3 separate regions of the Homo sapiens genome follow, and all the other regions are linked to region 2. The links are contacts of gene promoters, found by promoter capture Hi-C in human tissues and cell types (Jung and others, 2019). All regions are on one chromosome and are shown on one strand. Each heading gives the region's core, a stretch centred on a gene start or on the middle of the fragment in contact. The rest is flanking DNA. Distances are from core to core; before and after follow the strand shown. Region 1 overlaps NDUFAF5 (NADH:ubiquinone oxidoreductase complex assembly factor 5). Region 2 holds the start of TASP1 (taspase 1). Region 3 overlaps TASP1 (taspase 1).

Region 1 (3,710 bases), core at 966-3,465, 170 kb before region 2:
AGCCAGGTGTGGTGGCACATGCCTGTAATCTCAGCTACTAGGGAGGCTGAAGCAGGAGAATTACTTGAACCCAGGAGGCAGAGGTTGCAGTGAGCCAAGATTGTGCCACTGCACTCTAGCCTAGGCGACAGAGTGAGACTCCATCTGAAAAACAAACAAACAAGAAACCTTTAGGAAAAGAGGGGGTTATCAATTTGGAAGGAGCACAAGGCTACCTTCTGGGAGACTGAAAATGTTCAATATTTTGTTCAGGATGGTGGTTAAAATACAAGCAGCTGTACCTTTAAGATTAATACATTTCGCTGAATATACATGTTAACCTGAATTTAAAGAATCACATACATATCAAATATGCAGTACAGGACTCTGAATTCAAATTGTAACTACAGATTCAGTGTGACCATGGACAAGATACTTAACTTCTCGATGCCTCAATTTGCTCACCGGTAAAATTAGGGTATTAGAAAAACCTCAGAGAATTGCACTAAGCACAGAGTTAAGTGCTGCTCATATGTTGAAATCAGTGGGAAGTAACTTTTTCCAACAGAGAGGTCTAATTTCTAGTATGTTTCTCTTTTCTTTCTTGAAATGAATCATGAACACAGATTCTACAGCAGAACAAAAATAAATGCTGTATTTGAATAACATTTTTATTATTAGAGCCCGAGTGATATATCATCAGCCCACCATCATCTCTCAAGCCTTTGGATAAAGTGGCTCCTTGATTACATCAGGTAAGTCCTTGGGGTATGCTGGGGAAGGGGTGTGTGTGACTTATTACTGATCCTCTGTTATCTTGGCCATGCATGCTACAGGCTGCCAATCCCTCTATTAATGAATGAAAACTGATGACAATGGTAAGATTTCAGCTACGCATCTTTCCGTTTGCAGAGTGACAGAAGCTCCACACTCAGAGGAGGCTGCACGATAGGTCAAATGAACCTTGTTACAGATGGGCAACACAAGAAGGAACAGGGTCAGTTCAGACAGTGCCAGGGCAGAGCCAAGAAGCATGAGTTTGGCAGCTAATTCTGCCACTTGACAGGTAACTGTTCTCTTTGGCCCTAATTATTCTCACTCGTAACTTAAGCAAGCAAGAACAACAATGCTCACAAAAGACTATAAATCTGTAAGTAAAGACTAGATACTTATTTGTATAATCCTCTTTCTTTAAATCATCTTACAATTTTTCAGGATCCAGATGAAGGCTCCCCTAGGTAAGTGTAGTTCTGGATTCACAGAACATACCTTTAACCCCTCTTGCTTCCCCCATTCATCGAAATGATTTTTGATGTCAGTCTATATATATAAAAGAACCACCTCACAAATTCCCACAAAGGACGCAAGTTGAAGCTCTCTTTTAAGGAAACTGCTTCTCCAGCATCCCTTTCAAGTAATAGTTTATTTTTGCATATATTTTGCATATCTAACCTCTTTCAGAGTTTGATCTGTATCCTTCTTACTCCTTGAAGCCTCTTCCAAGCCATTACTTCCCTACCCTATTAAACACCTTCACCCTGCTGAGGCCCCACACCAGAAGGCTGTTAGCTCCTCCTAACTCCTGCTTGCTGTCTGACATCAGGCTAGTCACTCCCCTCATTCACTGAAAGGTTTGGCACTTGGCTCAGTTTTCCTCTACACTCCAGTACTGCCACCATCCTGGGTGACTTCATGTTAATAATCAGCAAGTTAAGATTTTAAAATCTCATCTCTAATCAACCACTCCATCACACCACCTCTGCCTTGATACCTGAGACACGTCCCAGACCATTATCACTTGTAACTGCTTTACTTCCAAAATCATCAAACATCTCATTTTCTGACCATACCCTCCTGTCCCTCCAGTGTGTTCAGGAACTTCAACCGTGACCATCCCTGACCACACTGGAACCACCTGTGCTCAGCTCCTCTTTTTCCTCCCAATTTATCAGCTCACTCTTTCTTGTTCCCACTTCCCTTTTCTTCCAGCTAAGATTCTTTAACCTATTATCTCAATTATACTCCTAGAATTATCTTTTACCTTTGTCTTTTTGTCACTTTTAACTAGCAAACCCCCAACCCAAACTAATTCAACTATCCGATTTTCGTGCCTGGTCCTGAGCTGCCACCTCCTGTTGATGGTCAGTTCACCTTCTCATTCCCTATAATGACTATTTCAAACGGTTCCATTCACTTCTCAAAACTCTGACCCTTTCATTCTTAGCATATATTACTTCCAGTTTGACAAAAAAAATAGACCCACAAGATGGGAACTTCTTGTTTTCAAACATAAACACCTACATCCTTTGGTGCTACCTCTTCTCCCTTCCTGCTATAACTTTGCCTCTCCCCTTACCAAGGTCAACCCCTCCACTGGCCTTTGTATTGCACCCTTCCCACCTTCTCAGACACCTGTCATCATCAATTATCTTTTCTCTCTCTTCTAGAGTCACCTCTTCTAGGAAAGCACTTAGATTCTTCTAGTCAGCAATTAAATAAATTCAAGTCTTAGAAAAAAAAAAACAACCTCATCTCAACTTCTATTCCTCTCCTCTCTTCTGACACCTGTAACCTTTCCATCCTTCACCTCTTCTTCACCACCAGACTTCTTGAAAGAACAGCACATATCTGCTATCTCCAGTTCCTCACTTTCCACTTACTCCTCAACCTACTCCTCTTCTACTCTCCTCACTCTAACAAAAGAGCTCTCACCAGGGTCACCAATAACCTTCTTGTTCCTAAATCTAGCGGACTTCCTTTTCAGTTCATAGTTTGCTTTTAACGCTGCTAAGTGCTCCCTTTGTTTTGAAACATTCTTTCTTTCCTTTGGTTCAGGCAATTCTACACTTTTCTGGTGTTTTTCTGGAACACCTTGCTGGCTACTCCTTCTCAGTCTCTTTGTAGGCTCAGACGTCGACTACCCACCTGCTAAAGCCTCAGTACCAAGCCACTTTGTCTGCTCACTCCATGTTCTTATCCTAGGCAAACGCTTTGAATGCCACCTATTCACAACTGACTCCCAACTTTTTAACCAAGCCAGTAGCTTCCTCTGAGCTACCTACCCACATACTCAACTGCCTACTTGACATAACCTCTTAGGTATTTCAAAAGCACTTCAAACCCAATGTATCCAAATGTAAACTCAAGGGCTGTACCTGCCCACACCTGGTATTCTTCTATTGTTTCTTCTATCAATGAAGGACACCATCTCTCTATGTGAGCTAGAAACTCAGCAATTAAGCTTCAAATGTCTTTCTCCTTCATCTGCCCACAGCCAATCCACCAGCAGGAACTGCAAAATTTATCTCCTAAACATCTCTGGGATGAATCTGCTTCTCTTCATCTCCATTGCCACCACCTTAGTACAAACTACCATCATCTCTCAGCAAGCTATACTGAAATTAATCTCGTGACTAGTTTATCTGCCAATCTACTCTTTTCAAAATCCAAGTCTGATACTGTTACCTCTCTAAGATGCCTCAAGGGGCATTTTAAGATAAGGGCAAACAATTTTAACAAGGCCTATAAAGTACTTCTGCATTTGATCTGTGACTCACGTTGACCCACCAAGGTCATCACTTAACTCTCTCCTTCTTACTCCCTGAACACCAGCCAAAATGCCCTTCTTTCAGTTCTTGCTATGTTCATTCTCACAGGAGGGCCTTTGCATATGCTGTTCTCCTTGCCTCAGATTCACTTGCCTACTCTGTCTACCCAGTTAATTCATCTCC
Region 2 (3,726 bases), core at 542-3,041:
ATGTCTATGTCTTTTTAAAACTTTAACATCTTTCTTTTATTCCTGCTGGTTCCAGTTAATATTGCTGTGTAAAAATCCACTTTAAAGGTGCAAAAGAACAACTATTTTATTATGCTGATGGATTCTGCGGGTGAGGAATTCAGAAAGGTCACAATGGGGATGGTTTATGTCTGCTTCCTAATGCCTGGGCCAAACTTTCTGGCACTATATAACAAGGGCCCCATTTTCTCCAGCTTCCAATAACATCTTCCTTAGCTCCCTTTAAGCCCTCATTGGCAGCTTCCTCAAGTCCTTTTAGACTCTTGTTAATACTTTGGATCCCTTCCTGCTCTTGCTGCTTCACCTAGTTCCAAAGCCAGTGCCACACGTTTTACTTTTATGATGTTATTATGTTATGTTTTGTTATAATATCCATCCTACTTCTAGGTAACAAAATCGGTTTCAGTTACTATTGCTATGTAATAAACTGTTATTCTTACTATGTAATAAACTTCTTCCCCTTGCCCCTCCCTAAGAAGTCAGTGGTAGAAGAGAAAGAAAAAAAGCCCCAAGTTACATAATAAAACCACATAGGTTATATTTATAATAATGGTATCAGTGGTTCTCGAACTTTTTGGTTTCAGCATACCTTTATACTCCCCAAAATAGTAGAGAACACTCCAAAGCTTTTGTTTCTGTGGGTTACATCTATTAATATTTACTATATTAAAAATTGAATACAAAGCTGAAATGTGGCTGGGTGCGGTGGCTCACGCCAGTAATCCCAGAACTTTGGGAGGCCAAGGCAGTAGGATCACCTGAGGTCAGGAGTTCGAGACCAGCATGGCAAACATGGTGAAAACCCGTCTCTACTAAAAATACAAAAAATTAGTCGGGTGTGTATCGAGCGCCTGTAATCCCAGCTACTCAGGAGTCTGAGGCAGGAGAATCGCTTGAGCCCGGGAGGCAGAGGTTGCAGTGAGCCGAGATCGTGCCATTGCACTCCAGCCTGGTTGACAGAGTGAAACTCCATCTCCAAAAAAAAAAGAAAAAAACCAACAAAAAACTGAAATGTTAAAAAGTTATTTAAAATAACAATAATAAACCATTATGTGTTAATATAATTAAGACATTTTAATGAAGAATAAATATTTTCCAAAAACAAAAAAATGTGGTAAGAAAAGTGTTATCTTTTGCATTAGTGTAAATTCCTCTATAGCTGGCTTAAAGAAGCCAGTTAGATTCTCATTTCTGCCTTTACATTCAGTTCGACGTGATGTTTTGGTGGAAGTATAAGGAAAATCCATCAGTCATGGGTCATCAAAACCCATGACTGGGTTTCGGTCTTACATCCTAGCCGATAAAAGACCGCCTACACTCCTTCCCCCTGGGCAAGGCTCGTGCCCCAACTCCTACAAGCAATGCAGGCTGAACCTTAGTTTTCCCTACCGTCTAACAGTGCTCTAAGGATTGAAAGAAAGTAACTCTTAAGCGACACCTAGATAAAATGATGGTCAGTTTAATTTCATTTCTCATCACAGTATTAGTCAATCAACCACTCAGATATAATCACATCCTGCGGGCTTATTCAGGGGCGGGGTGGGTAGAGATAAGCAATAGCGCATGCGCAGCTCAGAACGAAGCCCCAGGTGGAGTTAGCGCTGCACCTCTGAGGCCAGGTGAGCCGCTCCGAAGCGGAGGGCGGAGTCAGAGCCGCTTGTGGGAGGCTGCTTCCGACCACGTGGTACCCCGAATGACCAATGGGGAGACTTGATGTCAGCCCCGCTTCCTCACCCTGGCAACGGGCGGGTGACTACTTCCGGTGCAGTGAAGGCTCGGGGCTGAAGCGGGTGAGTGTCCCTCTTTCCCACGCTGTCCGCGCCGCTGCCGCCTCCGCGCTGCTGCCTCTGTGTGTGGGCCCCGTACGCTAGCTGGGACGTCCTCTCCGGGTCCGAGAGGGGGCGGCGCGCAGGACACCCCTTGCCCCGGGCGGGGCTAGAGGAGGGGGCCAGGATGTCCCTAGTTCCCTAGTCTTGGTCGCTCTAGGCGGCCCCGTCGTCCCCCTTCCCAGCCTCATCTCCGGCTTGGCGTCCTCGTGGCCACCGGGGAAGTACTGTCTGTATGTGGGGAGTTCTCGCAGTTCTTCACCCACTTTGCAGTCTCAGGCTGGAGATGTCTCAGAGTCCGAGGTTCGCAGACAGCCGAGAATGTGCGCCTTGTCCTGGGTGGCGGGTTGGGGGTAAGGCAGCCCCTTACTTAGTAATAGAGGCCTGATGAGAGTCCTGCGGGTCGTTAGCACTTACTACTCAGGGGGAGGAGGAGGAGGAAGAAGAGGAGGAGGAAAGGACCGAGAAGATGGAGCAGCTGGAGAGGAGGGGGGGAAAGCAGGAGCTAGAGATGTCCTGGAAATCGAGGGTATCGTGTTTCCGGAAGGAGAGAGTTCAACTTTCCTGGCTTCTGTAGGGGAGGGGAAGGAAAGGTGTGTTAGGGGCCATTAGATTGCTGAATTATTATTATTCTTTATTAGCGAAGGAATTTTTACTTATATTCTTAGGAGTTTAATAATTTATCTTTTTTGTTGTAAATAAAACTTTTCCCCACCACTTACAAAAAGCAGTGCTTACTAAGGAACATCTGGAAAATGCAGAAATAGTTATGAAGAGATCACCTATAGTTCTGCCAACCCAGCATTTTGATCTTTTTTCTAATATTTTATTCATATTAACCTATTTGTGATCATAATGTATGCGTGTAAAATACGGTTATAACTAAGAGGCATAGTTACATACATTGTGTTCATTGCACGGATAGATTGTCTTTTTTCCTCTTGAGAAAGTCTTATTAAGGTATTCATGCACCATAAAATTTATTCTTTAAAATTGTAAATTTCAGTGCTTTTTCTCATATCGCAAAGTTGTGCACCCATCACCACTATCTACTTTCAGAACATTTTCATCACCCCCAAAAGAAATCCTATACTCATGACAGTCACTCCCCATTAGATTCTCTGCTTTCTCTCCCAGGCCTTGTAACCACTAATCTACTTTCTGTATCTATGGATTTTCCTATACTGGCATTTCATATAAATGGAATCATAGAATATATGGCCTCACTTGTCTGGTGTCTTTCAGTTAGTATGTTTTCAAGGTTCATCAATGTCTGTGTATCAGTATTTCATTCTGTTTTATGGATGGGTAATGTTCCATTGTGTGAATATGCCACATTTTGCTTAACCATCATCGGTCGATGGACATTTAGGTTGTTTCTACTTTTTGGCTATTTTGAATAATTCTGCTATAAACATCTGTGTACAAGTTTTTGTATGGACATACGTTTTCAGTTCTCTTGAGTATATACCTAGAAGTGGAATTGGTGGGCATATGGTAACTCTATGTTTAACTTTTTGAGTGAGTGCCAAATGTTTTCCAAACTGGTTGCACCATTTTACATTCCCACCAGCAGGTTATAAGGGTTCTGATTTTTTCATATCCTTGGGAGCACTTATCTTTCTTTTTGGTTATAGCAGTCTTAGTGCTTATAAAGTGGTAGCTCATTGTAGTGTTGATTTGCATTTCCCTGATGGCTAATAATGTTGAGCATCTTTTAATGTGCTTATTGACCCTTTGTATATCTTTGGAGAAATGTCCATTTAATTCCTTTGCCCATTTTTAAATTGAATTGTCTTATATTAAAGTTGTATGAGTTCTTTCTATATTCTAAATGTAAGTCCCTTTCCAGATACATGAT
Region 3 (3,832 bases), core at 960-3,459, 140 kb after region 2:
TAGGATTTTTATAGTTTGAGATCCACCTTGAGTTAATTTTTGTATATGGTGAAAGGTAGGGGTCCAATTTCATTCTTCTGTGTATGGCTAACCAGTTATCCCAGCACCAATTATTAAATACAGAGTCATTTCTTCATTGCTAATTTTTGTCAGCTTTGTTGAAGGTCAGATGGTTGTAGGTGTATGGCTTTATTTCTGAGTTTTCTATTCTGTTCCACTGGTCTATGTGTCTGTTTTTTTACCAGTACCATACTGTTTTGGTTATTGTAGCTTTGTAGTATAATTTAAAGTCAGATAGTGTGATGCCTCCAGCTTTCTTCTTTTTGCTTAGGATTGCCCTGTCTCTTTGGGCTCTTTTTTGTTTCCATATGCTGGCTTGAGATATTCTGATGGTAGTGTCAAGTCTTACTATTCAGCAAAGGCTGGGATCCGAGCACCAGCAAAACTCCAGATATCTCTTTATCTATTTATCTATTTATAGACCAGCTGTCAGCTTTAGGAAGGGGGAATTTCTCTCTTTCTCTTGCCTTCTGTCTTTTACAGCCTAGCTTTCAGCTTATTGGGTCACTGGGGATATTTTTACTTTCACCCACCTATGAGATCTTCCTTTGTCTTACCACTCTGGTCTCACACTTTGGTGGACAGTTGCAGTGCACTTAGGGAAGATCCAGTGTGCTTCTGAGGGATTTCTTTCAGCTCTTTTTTACTTTTCCCATTGCTTGGTGGCTGCTGCCTTGCAGTAAGTGATGGCTCTCTGCATCCAGGTTGGCTCTTCTCCTTCAGCTCTCTTGTTGTGTCCCCAGACTTCAAAATGCTGCTGCTTTTCACTTGCCAAAGAACTTATGCACCTCAGGGTGTGGATATCTTTCAGCTCTCCTGCTCTACCCTACATTTTTGGAGCTATTAGTGAAGACCTGTAGGAAAGAATTGATGAATGGATTCAGCCTTGTTTAGTGAATGGGGTTTCTTTTGATTCTGATGCATCATGGTAGCTCACATGTAGTCATTTGAAGTTTATTAAAGTTCAACTAATTTCTTGTCCTCATCTACAGCATTTATTCTTTTTCCACTGCTTCCTTAGGAATAGAAGAGACCATGGCTCTGTTTTCTCATAGGAAAGGCTTATCTTTTTTGGAATTAGGTTTATTGAGATATTTGTGCATTTTCGTTAAAAAACCCATGACTGTAGCTTATCTGGCTTGCTATTGTTATTACAGTGGGAGTGCTGGACTCTTGGAAGTTTCTTCATCCTAACTAGAAGTGGAAATTTCAGGGATCTGTTTTGGAGGCTTGTGAGACATATTAGAGGATTTAGAACCATTATTTTAGCTGGTAAAATTGTCCATCTTTTGGCACTGGAGCCCCTTTATGTTGGTTTCTGTGATCTTTGACTTTACTATCTTTGGTAATTTTCTTGTTTTTGGGTAGAACAAGATGCCTCAGACTCCTCTTGAATACATCTTTTATGAGACCCAGAGACCCAGAACCAGCCATTTCTCCAATGATCCTCCTCCTCCTTTTTTTTTTTTTAAGTAGGAAATGTGATTTTAACATAATAATCTAGTTTCCAAATTTTTACTGCAATTTTCATGTTAGCCTCTAGGCGATGATAGTATCACTGTAGTTCATGGGTCCAGCAGCAGTATTAAAAATCAAAATCAGACCGGGCGCAGTGGCTCACTCCTGTAATCCCAGCACTTTGGGAGGCCAAGGCGGGTGGATCACCTGAGGTCAGGAGTTTGAGACCAGCCTGGCCAACATGGCAAAACCCTGTCTCTACTAAAAAATACAAAAATTAACCAGGTGTGGTGGCAGGCACCTGTAATCCCAGCTCCTCAGGAGGCTGAGGCAGGAGAATGGCTTGAACCCGGGAAGCAGAGGTTGCAGTGAGCTGAGATCGCACTAGGGCACTCCAGCCTGGGTGACAGAGCAAGACTCTGTTTCAAGGAAGAAAAAAAAAATCAAAATCAAATTGAAACCTTAGCCTACAGGTTTAAAACCATACGCTTATAGATTTTTAAATAAAATTATAGCCATGTGGTTTCTTAATTTGGGATTTGTAGACCCTATGGAATCTATGTATTGGTTTTTATGGGGCATTCTGTGAATTTCCTGAGACTATATGAAACATTTTAGTCCAAGATATATCTTTTTCTCATGACCTGAGAGAGATTGGGAAGCACAGTCTTAGGTAATTTTGAATAAAACTGTAAGTTAACTTGCTGGCTAAAATAAATTAAATAAATAAATTTAACAAGTAATACAAGTTGATGTAGTTCCTTCTTTTCCTGTTATTATTTCTTAGTAATAGTGTCAAATGAAAACCTTGAAGAGTCCCAAATTGTATATTGTCTATTTGTCTTTTGTTACCTAACTCATTTGAGGTGGCCTTCCTGTATTTTGCCCCTTTCTTCTTTTATCTGCTACTTTCATCTGATAATTTTTCTAGTTGGTGGTAAGACAGCTTTTGGACAATTTCTGTATTGATATTCCTTAAATTCTACCCAGATGTAGAGAATAAAATATGAATACTATTTTCTCCTTCCTCCTTCAGAGCAGTGTGTCTTTCCCTGCCCTCAAAACTTCCCTTGATACTGTATTGAATAGAGAAAGGGATAAGCAATGACTGGTGAGCAGATTTAAGACTTTTTTCTATGGTACTTTATTTGGCCTCTAAATACTGAATGTTGTTTTTAAACTTTGCGTACAGCTTTAAAGCTGATGAAATGATTTATATTGCCTCTCCTTTGTACAGAGGAATTTATTGAGAAATAACATTGGCTCAAACTTCCTTTTCAGCTTTTAAAGAGATCAAAATGACCCCAATAAATTACTTCTAAATTTTAAGTCATTAAGAAAATTATTAATTAAATATTTAATATATGTGGCTGGCTCAGTAGTTATAGGTTAGATTTATGGTGTAGTATAACTGTCTTGCTTATGTTCTTTCTGTTTGTGGACTTTATACCACATATATAATCAATATGTATAGTGAAATATTTTACATGACATCTGCATATTTGTAGATGTTTATAACTGCATTTTGGCTTTGGTTTTTTTTTTCTGGCTCATGAAATGCACACCATGGCTTAGAGGCAAAATAAAATCTTTAATTTTATTTTGTTGGGATGTGCTTGGTGACTTACTATTTATAGGACTTTCTGGTTAAAATTGGAGACTATCTACAGTCCTAAGTGTTAGTATCAGAACCTGTTGTGCTCCTTATTTGCAGATAATTATTACTATGATCTTGTCCATATTCTCAGATTTTTGGGGCTTTGGATTTTCTTTGTTTATATCTCCTTTATTCATGTGATGATATTAGCCTGGTTTCTGCAGTGACTGTTATGGAATGAGCATGTTACTAGGAGTCACAATACTTGGATCTTAGAATCTTAGTTCTTCCAAATCACTTTTCTTGTTTGTCAGATGAGATGATAGTACTTTCCTTGCAAGATAATTCTAAAGCCCCAGATATACAGTAGTTGATTATTTAATCAGTGAGTCAGTGAGTCAGTGACCCTTTCTCCCTAAAAAAATTAAGTTTTCTATAATTGAATTTAATCTAAGTATATTTTTTCATTAATTAACAGCTTTTAAAAAGGGTTTTCTCAAGTCATCTGCCTATTGCAAGCCTCTTAACTATATTTTAACCAGCAAGTTATTAAAGTTCTAAAACTACATTCAGTGGTAAATATTTTGTCTTGTGAGGAATATAAAACTATTAAAGCTAAGCCATTTAGTTTTTCAAATGAGGAAGCTGAAGCATAGATGTCATAAGTGACTCATTTCAGGTTCTACAGCCAGAGCTGGTTCTCCTCATATGTGATCC

Evidence for each region. The method cuts DNA at HindIII sites, captures the fragments that hold promoters and counts their contacts. A contact is called where the count stands out against the background at its distance.
Region 1: a contact is called between a fragment that was not itself captured here and the fragment with the promoter of TASP1 in region 2, in 2 of the 25 tissues and cell types used here (spleen and stomach).
Region 3: a fragment that was not itself captured here is called in contact with the fragment with the promoter of TASP1 in region 2 in 2 of the 25 tissues and cell types used here (aorta and spleen).

Annotation. Positions count from the first base shown.
Region 1 is chr20:13,809,405-13,813,114 of GRCh38, reverse strand. The region is part of intron 8 of NDUFAF5 (NADH:ubiquinone oxidoreductase complex assembly factor 5); the gene reads right to left. Among named protein-coding and RNA genes, the nearest start is that of NDUFAF5, 26 kb to the right of the region's middle. The HindIII fragment of the contact is 5,919 bases long and covers 1-3,710 here.
Region 2 is chr20:13,636,997-13,640,722 of GRCh38, reverse strand. It overlaps TASP1 (taspase 1), which reads left to right and starts at 1,791. Exons shown (of 14, transcript NM_017714.3): 1 at 1,791-1,829. RefSeq lists a silencer at 1,891-2,040 and enhancers at 2,231-2,320, 1,934-2,434. The HindIII fragment of the contact is 12,335 bases long and covers 1-3,726 here.
Region 3 is chr20:13,494,184-13,498,015 of GRCh38, reverse strand. The region is part of intron 10 of TASP1 (taspase 1); the gene reads left to right. Among named protein-coding and RNA genes, the nearest start is that of TASP1, 140 kb to the left of the region's middle. The HindIII fragment of the contact is 6,679 bases long and covers 1-3,832 here.